3 separate regions of the Homo sapiens genome follow, and all the other regions are linked to region 2. Evidence: promoter capture Hi-C in human tissues and cell types (Jung and others, 2019). All regions are on one chromosome and are shown on one strand. The core of a region is centred on a gene start or on the middle of the fragment in contact, and the rest is flanking DNA. Distances in the headings are between cores, read along the strand shown.

The links. Contacts are between HindIII fragments. The study calls those that stand out against the background at their distance.
Region 1: a contact is called between a fragment that was not itself captured here and the fragment with the promoter of ZNF423 in region 2, in 2 of the 25 tissues and cell types used here (lymphoblastoid cells and mesenchymal stem cells).
Region 3: a contact is called between a fragment that was not itself captured here and the fragment with the promoter of ZNF423 in region 2, in 2 of the 25 tissues and cell types used here (H1 embryonic stem cells and mesenchymal stem cells).

The regions. Positions count from the first base shown.
Region 1 is chr16:49,621,476-49,624,584 of GRCh38, reverse strand. The region is part of intron 5 of ZNF423 (zinc finger protein 423); the gene reads left to right. Among named protein-coding and RNA genes, the nearest start is that of LINC02179, 160 kb to the right of the region's middle. The HindIII fragment of the contact is 3,324 bases long and covers 1-2,991 here.
Region 2 is chr16:49,854,384-49,857,443 of GRCh38, reverse strand. It overlaps ZNF423 (zinc finger protein 423), which reads left to right and starts at 1,332. Exons shown (of 8, transcript NM_001379286.1): 1 at 1,332-1,709. The coding sequence starts at 1,670. RefSeq lists a silencer at 1,829-2,088. The HindIII fragment of the contact is 13,140 bases long and covers 1-3,060 here.
Region 3 is chr16:49,685,218-49,688,135 of GRCh38, reverse strand. All of the region lies in intron 3 of ZNF423 (zinc finger protein 423), which reads left to right. Among named protein-coding and RNA genes, the nearest start is that of ZNF423, 170 kb to the left of the region's middle. The HindIII fragment of the contact is 5,543 bases long and covers 1-2,918 here.

The sequences.
Region 1 (3,109 bases), core at 80-2,579, 230 kb after region 2:
TTCTTTTGTTTTGGTTTGGTTTGGTTTTTTTTGAGACAGAGTCTCACTCTGTCACCCAGGCTGGAGTGCAGTGGCACGATCTCTGCCCACTGCAACCTCCGCCTCGCAGGTTCAAGTGATTCTCCTGCCTCAGCCTCCCAGGCAGCTGGTACTACAGGCATGCAGCATCTCCCCTGGCTAATTTTTTTGTACTTTTAGTAGAGACAGGGTTTCACTATGTTGGCCAGGCTGGTCTCAAACTCCTGACCTCAAGTGATCTGCCCATCTCAGCCTCCCGAATTTCTGGGATTACAGGCATGAGTCACCATACCTGGCCCCATGTACATATCTACTGATGAACATATGTATGTGATTTTATTGTGATTATAGGAATATATAGATATTATATTTTGCGTTTATATATAATACATTATATACTGTTATATACTATATTCTTTATATGTGTAAATATGTATATAAAATGGGAATATAGGATTTGGATGGACTTGCTGAGTCACAGGTTAAATGATGTTCACCTTTAGTAAATGCTGACAAATACATTTCTGAAGTGGTTGTATGGACTTAACGCCCCCACCAGTGGTGTATGAGAGTTGGAGTTTGCTCCAAATTTGTACAGCCATCAAGGTTTTGTTTAAGGTTTGCATTGCAAAGGCCCTTCTTTAGTGAAGGTGCTCTCAGGGCAGGTATGGGTCCCCTGGTCCCTACCTAGCCACAGCATTGGCCAGTCCCCCTGACCCCCAACCTATCTGACAGCCTCTACCCCCAGTGCCTTGGAGCCAGTCTCCTGCAGCCACTGACTCCCAATCGTGTGTGTGGTGGGGCTCACCTGGCGGAGAGTGGGGAGGAGGGGCCCAGGAAGAGCAGGTGGGGGCTGTGGGAGCTTGGCCTGACAGGGAGATTGGTGGCTTCTTAATTTCTCCGTCTGAAAGCCCCCTGCTGAAGGATAAGAAGGGGCACTCCCCTGTCAGTCACTGGCTGCTGAGAGTCCTTTCACGGAGTGTCAGGGAGGTGAAGATGAAGATATCTAAAAATGTTTGCTTTTGTAGCAGATGTTAATGCGCGTTCCTGTTTGTAAGCATGAAGGGCGCAAGCCTGGCTAATTGGACTGCAGTGATTTCTGAGGTGTTTCTGCCCCCTCCCTCCTCTCTTCTACCTTGCCTTTAGTGCAGAGCCTGGAAGCTATGTGTCCTCAAGTGCAAGGCAAGGGGGTTGCTCTTAACTAGAGTTGTGGGAAACACAAAAGGAGGGTGTGAGGGGCATTTGGGCCTGTGTATGAGCTGTGGGCCGGGCTTCTGAGGGAAGGCGCCTTGGCTGGGGGGCTGGACAGGTCCCCTTGCCCATTCCTGCCCTGCAGCGCTGTCAGCTGACCTGGAGCCCAGGAACGTGGGAGTTGGAGGCCTGGAGAGCAGGCAGCAGGGAGTGGTTGGTTGGTCCCCGAGTGCAGATTCCAGTTCACTGCGGCATGGAACCCCGGGTGAGCCAGACCTCCGGTGGCTGGGCAGTCCCTCTCGCTCTAACCTGCACTCCCTACCTGCCTGCCCTCCCCGAGCCTCATCAACCCAGTCTACCAGAGGACCTTGACTGAGCACCTATGGCATGTTGAGAGTTGCAGCGGTCTCTGTGGGTGACGGGAGTACAGGGGACATGGTCTCTGCTTCAGAGATCATCCCATAGAAGACACTGCACATAGCATGCAGCAAAGAGGTCACATTGAATAAGGATGCTAACAGCTGCTACTGACTCAGCCTTTCTATGTGCCAGGCACTTTACATGGGCACTAGTTCCCCATCTGACAGATGAGGAACCCGGGGCTTAGAGAGGTTACGTGAGTTACCCAAGTCCTTCCAGCCTGAGTAATGGAGGCAGAGTCTGAACCACAGCTAGGGTCCCTCCATTGTGTTTGGAGCCCCTGCCAGGGCCTGTGGTGGGAGAGACCTCAGGGTTCCCTCTCCAGGGGAAGGCTGATGGGCATGCAGGTAACTGCAGTGCAGTGATGTGGGTGCTCCCAGAACAGGGCCCCCTGGGCATTGAAGGATGAAGAGGGGGGACGTTGCCTTCGGAGAGATGGCTGAACATCAGGAGGAGGCTCTGGAACAATGGGTTTCTGCCAGGCTGCGAGGGTGATGAGCCACTGCCTATAGCAGGATGGGGGGTGAGCAGAGCAGGTGAGTCTGGGGGGCTGTAGGTGCTTGGCTTGGCCAAGACTGAGGCATTGTGGGGAGTGAGAATGGGGAGGGGGTTGGGGTGAGCCATGGAGCACCTCCGATACCAAGTGGAGGGGTTAGGGTTTGTCCTTCACCCCGTAGGCCAGGGTCCAACTTTGGGGGCCCCTTGGCTATGGTTTACTAGGCTTCTCTTGAAAAACCACAAGAGGTGGCAGCAAGGGCTTCACATTCCCGCAATCATCATTCCCACCTGGCGTGACTTAGCAGCAGCAGCAGTTTCCTGTATGTAGGCAAGGCATGCATTCCCAGGCATCATGGTCTTGCTCAGTTAAGTCTCCAGCCTGGTCCCTGTGGGTACCTGAGTTTAAACCTTGGACTTAAGCGCTAGGGAGCCATTGAAGGTTTCAGAGCAGGGTATATCCTGGCCTGAGCCTTAGGAAGAAGAATCTGGCTGCGGTGTTGAGAAGGAACCAGTTGGGAAGAGAACGAAGACCCACCTGGTGTGGTCCTGGGGTGAGTGAACAGGGCAGGGGGAGAAGAGGAGTTGATGGAACTTAGATGTGGCTTGTGCTGTGATTCTGGCTGGCCCTGGTGGCTTGGGAAGGCTGCTGGGGAAATGGTGAGAGGCAGACACTGCAGGCCTGGTTTGGGGCTGGCTCTGCAATCCCAGTAAATCTTTTGGGGCCCAGTGTCCCAGTGGATGGCTTCTCCTGCTAAATGGTCTGAGCCCAGAGTGGCTGCCCTGCCGCTGACGGGGGTAAAAGTCCCCCTTAGTGGCACCAGGGGGACTTGGTGGGTAGAAGTGGCCCTGTTCAGCTCTGCAGCCTTCTCATAAACTCAGGGCACTTGGGGGTCTGAGGCAGGCCTCCCCTGGGACCCGGACTGCTGGAGAGCTCCCCTGCGGGGCGGTAAACCGGCCTTTTTATAGCGGGGGCCTCTGCATG
Region 2 (3,060 bases), core at 83-2,582:
GCGAGCTTGACAGCCGCGTGGGCCCTAAGTGTGTTCCCTCCTCCTGCCCCCGGTGCAGCCAGCGCCCGAGCCCCGGCCCCGCGTGCTGGTGCGGTGCCCGCGCCCGCGCCGTGCCTGCCGCCGCCGCCGCCGCCGCCACCACGGTCCGGGTTTTGCGGGCGGCCGGAGCTGTATTTCCAGCGCTGTCCATCGCTCGGTGCTGTTGGCCCTCTCTCCGTCTGATCCGAGCCGGAGCAGTGCGGGGCGCCCCACGGGATCAGAGCGCTCCCCCGCCGGGACTCCGCTCCTCACATCCTCCTGCTGGGACCCGGCTACATTTCCAGCCAAGCCTGGCTTTATTATGTGTCTCTGCAGTGCAGCCCCAGCAGCCGGATCGGGAGGAGGAGAGCCAGCGACCACAAAGAAGACAGGAGCGCGAGGGAGGCTGGCGGGCGGGCCGGCGCCGGCTGGAGCGCGGAGGAGCCGGGGCGCAGCCGCCGCCGCCGCTGCCCAGGAGGACGGGAGCCCGGCCGCCGCCGCCGCCGCCTGCTCGTCCTCCTCTTCCGCCACCGCGGCCGCCGCCTCCCCCCTCTCCGAGCCCCTGGCCCATGGAGGCAGCTAGCGGGGCCGGCGACTTGGCACCGGCCTGGGGATCGGCTGCGCGCCTCGCGCTGAGCACCGCAGCCCGAGGGCAGGCAGCGGCGGCCCGGCGCACGGGCTGAGCGATGCCCGGGGCACGGGCGCGCCTGCCGGCCGCCGCCTGAGCGCCCCCGCGCGCCCCTTCCTCCTCCGGGGGGCCGGCGCCGGGCCGATCCGAGAGCCAGAGAAGGGGGCGTGAGCCAGGGGCCCCGAGCCGCGGCTTCCGAGCCACTGCGGCCGTTTCGAGCCTCCCCTCCAAGTAGGCTGAGTTGAGGGACCCCCGCCCCCCATCCATCATAATCTCCAAACCAGGCGCTTGGGCATTTTTGAGCCATTAATATTTATTATTTTTTTTTGTGCGGCAGGGGATAATTCGAAGGCTTCTTTTTTTTTTTTTTCCTGGGGGGTACTGAGCTTCCGCGCTCCCGACCGCCTCCCGGTCTCCTCCCCCCTTGAGATACCCTCGACTCCAGCCCCGTTCCCCCTCCTCAGATGGGTTCATTGTGAGCTCCGCACCGGGCTGCGTGGCCGGACGCCTGCAAACTTTGCACAAAAATCCGGCAAGGGGCGGAGGAGGAGGAGAAGGAGGAGGAGGGTGAGGGTGGCGGTAGGGTGGGGGAGGGAAGGAGGGGGCCGCAGGGGCCGGGGGCCGGCGGGGGGTTGGGAGGAGGAGGGGGGCGGCTTTTTTTTTTTTTTTTTTTTTTTTTTTTTTGCATAACTCGGCTCGGCCGAGTGGCCTCCGGACTCCCCGCGCCGCTGGGACCGCCGCTTGGATCGGGAGCCCCGGACTGCCGCATTGCAACAGGCAGGGCCCCGGCGCGCCCCCCGGGCCTCCCCCCGCCTTCGAGCGGCCTCGGCCGGCCCGGGCTGCCCCCCCAAGGGAGGCCGCCCCGGACCTGCGGTCCGCTCCCCACAGCCGCCAACCGGGCTGCAAAAAAAAAAGTTTCCAAGAGACAGGCGGAGGAGAAGGGGGAGAAGGGCTGCCCGGAGCGGCGGGGGGCGGCGGGGGGAGCCGGCTGCGGAGGGCGACGGAGCGCCCGGAGCCCCGGACATGTCCAGGCGGAAGCAGGCGAAGCCGCGCTCGGTGAAAGGTGAGCGAGCGAGGCCCGGCGGAGGCGCGAGCGAGCGAGCGAGGAGGGAGGGAGCGAGGGAGGAGGGACCGGCGAGCGGGCTGGCTGCCGGGGACCCGCGCGAGCGAGCCGAGAGGAGGAGGAGGAGGCGGCAGAGGAGGCGGAGGCGGAGGCGGAGGCGGAGGAGGGGGAGGAGGAAGCCGGGAGCAGGAGGCGGAGGCGGCGGCGGCGGCGGCGGCGGCGGAGGGGGTACGCCGCGGACACCCTCCCTGCCCGGACTCGGCGCCGTCGCCCTTGGGGGACCCAGGCCTGGGGGCGCCGCTAAGGGGCCCTTGCCGCTCCCTCCGTGCGGGGCCCGGGCCCGTGTGGCCAATCAAGGGGTGCTGGCCCGACTTGGCGGGGATTGCGAATCTCGGCGGCGGCGGGCGGGCGACAGGAGGAAGGAAGAGGCGGCGAGGACGGGCGCCCGGCAGGCCGACCGCTCCTCGCTGGCCCCGGGCCTCGCTGGCTCTCTCTGGCCCCTGCCTGGTCGCCCGAGGACGCGGGGAGCGGCGGGCGCTGTCGGCGAGCGCCCCGGGCGCCGCGCCCTCGCCCCGGCCGCCTGGCGCCCCCTCCCGCCCCTGCCCAGGCCTTCTCCCGGCCCGGGCCCCTGCACTTCCTGCCTCCTCCACCGAGGCCCACCGGGCAGGGAGCCTCCGCCAGGAGTTCATTGTCTGCACGGCGCCGGCGGGACGCAGGTCCTCAGGGGAGCTCAGCGGCCGCGGTGCGCGCCCCTCCGCGGAGGGCGCCCCGGATCTGACCCCGGGCACCGGCACCCTGGATCTGACCCCGGGCACCGGCACCCTCGACACCCAGGCCGGCTTTCTGTGCTGGCTCCCCGGGGTGCGCGCGTTTGTGGGGAGCTGCAGATATATAGATACACACACCCATCCCTTCGTCTCCACGCTTTGCTTTCTATTTCCAGCGAGGGCCCCCAGCTCGAGGGGACCCCTGGAGAGTAGAGGCCCCGGGGAAAGGCCGCGCGCCGGCAGCAGAGCCCCTCCCCTGGCCTCCTCTCCCCGCGGCTGGCCTTTCCAGGCCTTGCCTGCTGCTTTGTCCCGATTCTAGCCCCTCGGTTGGGTGCCCGGGCGCTCGGCTGTGAGATGGGAGATGATCGAGGAAGGGGGGAACGATGAGAGCGGCTAAGTCTACGGAGCCAAAAGCCCCCAGGCCCTTGTCTTCTCCCATCTCCCCTGATGACCTCTGGCCTGAGCCCAGTTCTGCTCTGAAAAGTTCATTTCCTGGAGGCCTGCGCGGGAAGGCGCTGGGGCCCCGCTCCCTTCCTGCCAGCCTTGCGCCTGGCTGGAATGGCTGGAACTGAATCTGGCAAGGA
Region 3 (2,918 bases), core at 162-2,661, 170 kb after region 2:
CCCTGCCCAATGTGAATTTGAAGAGTTTTTTTTTTTTTTTTCCCTCTCAACCAGGGAGACTTGCGAAAAAAAAAAAAAAAACCGCACCGTGGTCTGCAGCACCCGCTCCCACTGTGGGTCCCTGGGTCCCTCCTGGAGGCCCTCTGGCTGTTTTTTGGGAGGGCAGATGGGTTGGGACCCACCAGGACCTTCCAAGATGCAGCCGTGTCCCTCCCTTGGGGTCTCCAAGGAGCCCCTCTGAGCTCTCTCTGCTGGAGGACGTCAAGCACTGGGGAGTCTGGGAGTCCTGTCTCACATGTGGGGGGCAGAGAAAAAGGAGGGAAAAAAGGGAGGGAAATGAAAGGCACGAGTTTGTCGGGAACTGGTGCTGGCTGTGGAAACAGGAGCCGCAGCAGGACGGAACCTGGTGGCCTTCAAAACTTTTCTTCTCCCCTCTCTCCACATGACTCGGAGGATGCAGGCAGTAATTAAAGGCCCCCCTGGTTCCTCATTTTCTGTGCCCATGTCTTTGATCTGGCTCATGTTGGGCAGCTATTTTCATTGTTCCTGCCTTTCTTTCATTCTTTTTTGATGGCAGAAATGAAGATCTTTGATTCTAGAGTCGGAGGTGGGCAGGAGAGTGTTACAGGTCTTACATAATGCATCTTTCACATCTTATTTTTAAACGCGGGCATAATCAGGGCTGGGCAGAGGCTGGGCTTGGTTTGCACCCGTGTGTGGGGAGAGGCGGTTGCCTGCCCTGCAGTGCTAGCCCAGGGGTAGGTGGGGACAGGCAGTCCTGTGCAACTGAATGAAAATTACTAGAGGAAGCTTCCCCCACTTCCACCCCTTCCTAAATATAACCTGGAGGGAGTTTTTCCTAATTGTTCCCTTATGGTGAAAAATGTGTTGAGAGAGGGCAGGACAAGGAAGGCCCTGCCCACCCAGCCAGGGGTCTCTTGGTGGCGCCCTGGGAGGCCTGCCCACTGTTTATTAGTGGATGTTAATAAACTATAGGGGACAAACCACGGGGGTGGTGTATGAACAGTAACTCAGGTACCCAAGATGAAATAGGGGTGCTCTGCCAGATGTGGGGAGGTGGCAGACATGGAGGGGGTGTCGCCATCTGGTTCTTCTGTACACCCTTCCTGGGGCTTCCCTCCAGGCAGGAGACCCTGGGGCAGACAGAGATGAGAAGGTGAGGCCTTCTCCATGGTTAGGAACATGCGATCCAAGGTGGGATGGGGATGCGAGGCTGGTGCAGGGATCGCAGGTTCTGATGATGATGGGGGTTCTGCCTGGGAGGTGAGGAAGCATGGGTACAGGCTGGCGGGGCTGGTGAGTCGAGATCATGCTTGCTCCTCCATCTGTTCCTGTCCATGGCTTCTAGATTTCCAAGAGAAGCCAGTCACTTGGGTCTTTATGGGAAATCTCTTAGAGATGAGAAGAAGAGGTCTGCCTTGGTCAGGGGACAGTGATAGTAAGGTAGGTAGGAAGCCTGGCAGGTAGGAAGCCTGGGTGTGGTGGGAGAGGGGGTGATTGGAGCGTCCAGGCCACTCAAGTGTGGTGGGTCTGGCAGGAAAGGCTGGGAGGGCACTGACAGGGGACCTGCATCCTCCGTGTGGGGCGTACGCAGGCCTGTGTACTCCGAGTGGCTGCAGGGCTGCTTCCTGGCAGTGAGCTCCACAGGGCCAGAAGGTTTTTGTACATGATACCTGAGGCTTCATGTCACCTCCACTACGTGCCTGGTATTCATGACGGTGTGGTCCCCTCCTGCCCCAGCATGGAAGACAGAGCCTCTGTGAGACCCGCCTTGCACTTTGGATGATGCTAAGGAAGGTTGCGAGGCTGGCCTTCCTGCCTGCCTACCCGAGACTCAAGCAGCAGGACTTTCATAATTAATATGAATTAATGCATATTAATTGAGCACCTACTTTGTGCCAGGCTGTGTGCTGAGTGCTGGGCATACAACAGTGAGCTGGACAGGCCTGGACTCTCCCCCTGTGGAGCTTCCAGTCTGTGGGGGAGAAGGACAGCTAGACAAACCACCCCATAAATAGCTACGTTTATCTTCTAGGCGTGGAAGCATCTGGAAGGAAGAGCATGGGGCATGAGAGAGAAGCAAAGGCTTCTTTGAAGAATGGACACTGGAAACGAGGGCGAAACAATGAATAGAAATTATGGGGATAGCCATCCAGACGGAAGGTTTGAAGACTGCAAGTCAGGAGGGCGCTGGCATGTTGGGGGGATTGGTGGTAGGCAGCATGGGGGAGCGTGGTGAGCCAGCAGAGCGTGTGTACGGGTGGGACCAGGTGGGGCATTTGTATTATGTTCTAGGAGCAGTGTGGGTGGTGGGGGTCTTGGCATCCTCAGACTCATCCTTGGCAGAGTTCCTGCCAATGCCCTGTCAAGGACGGGCGTGGGCAGGTGGGGACATGGAGAGGATGGTGCTGCAGGCAGTGGGGACCGAGAACAGAGGGTGTGTGCGAGAGCCGTCCTAGGGACCACGTTGACAAGGTGTGGAAATGGATTAAATTTTGGAGAAACCCAGGAGGATCCCTGGTTTCCTGGCTTGGGCATCGAGGTGAACAGAGGGGTCTCTCCTGAAATACACAGCGCTGAAGGAGGAATAGGATTGGAGGCAGAGAAGTCTTTCCCCTTTTCTGACTGAACTGCACCAGGGCAGGGGCCTGGGGGACAAAGCTGGTAGGGACAGTGGGGTGTCAGTCCAAGGAACTAGACCCTGGCTGCTGCTCAGTCCCCTCAAGACCCCATGCTGCATGTGAGCAGGAACCTCCATTGCTCTATCCCTAGCTGAGCCCACCTAGTCCATGCCTGGCACACAGTAGGTGCCTTGTTAATATCTGTTGTGGAGACCTGCTCTAGAAGGCTGCAGATCAGTTAAAACTTGCTGGGATGGGGATGCTGCTTGATGGGGG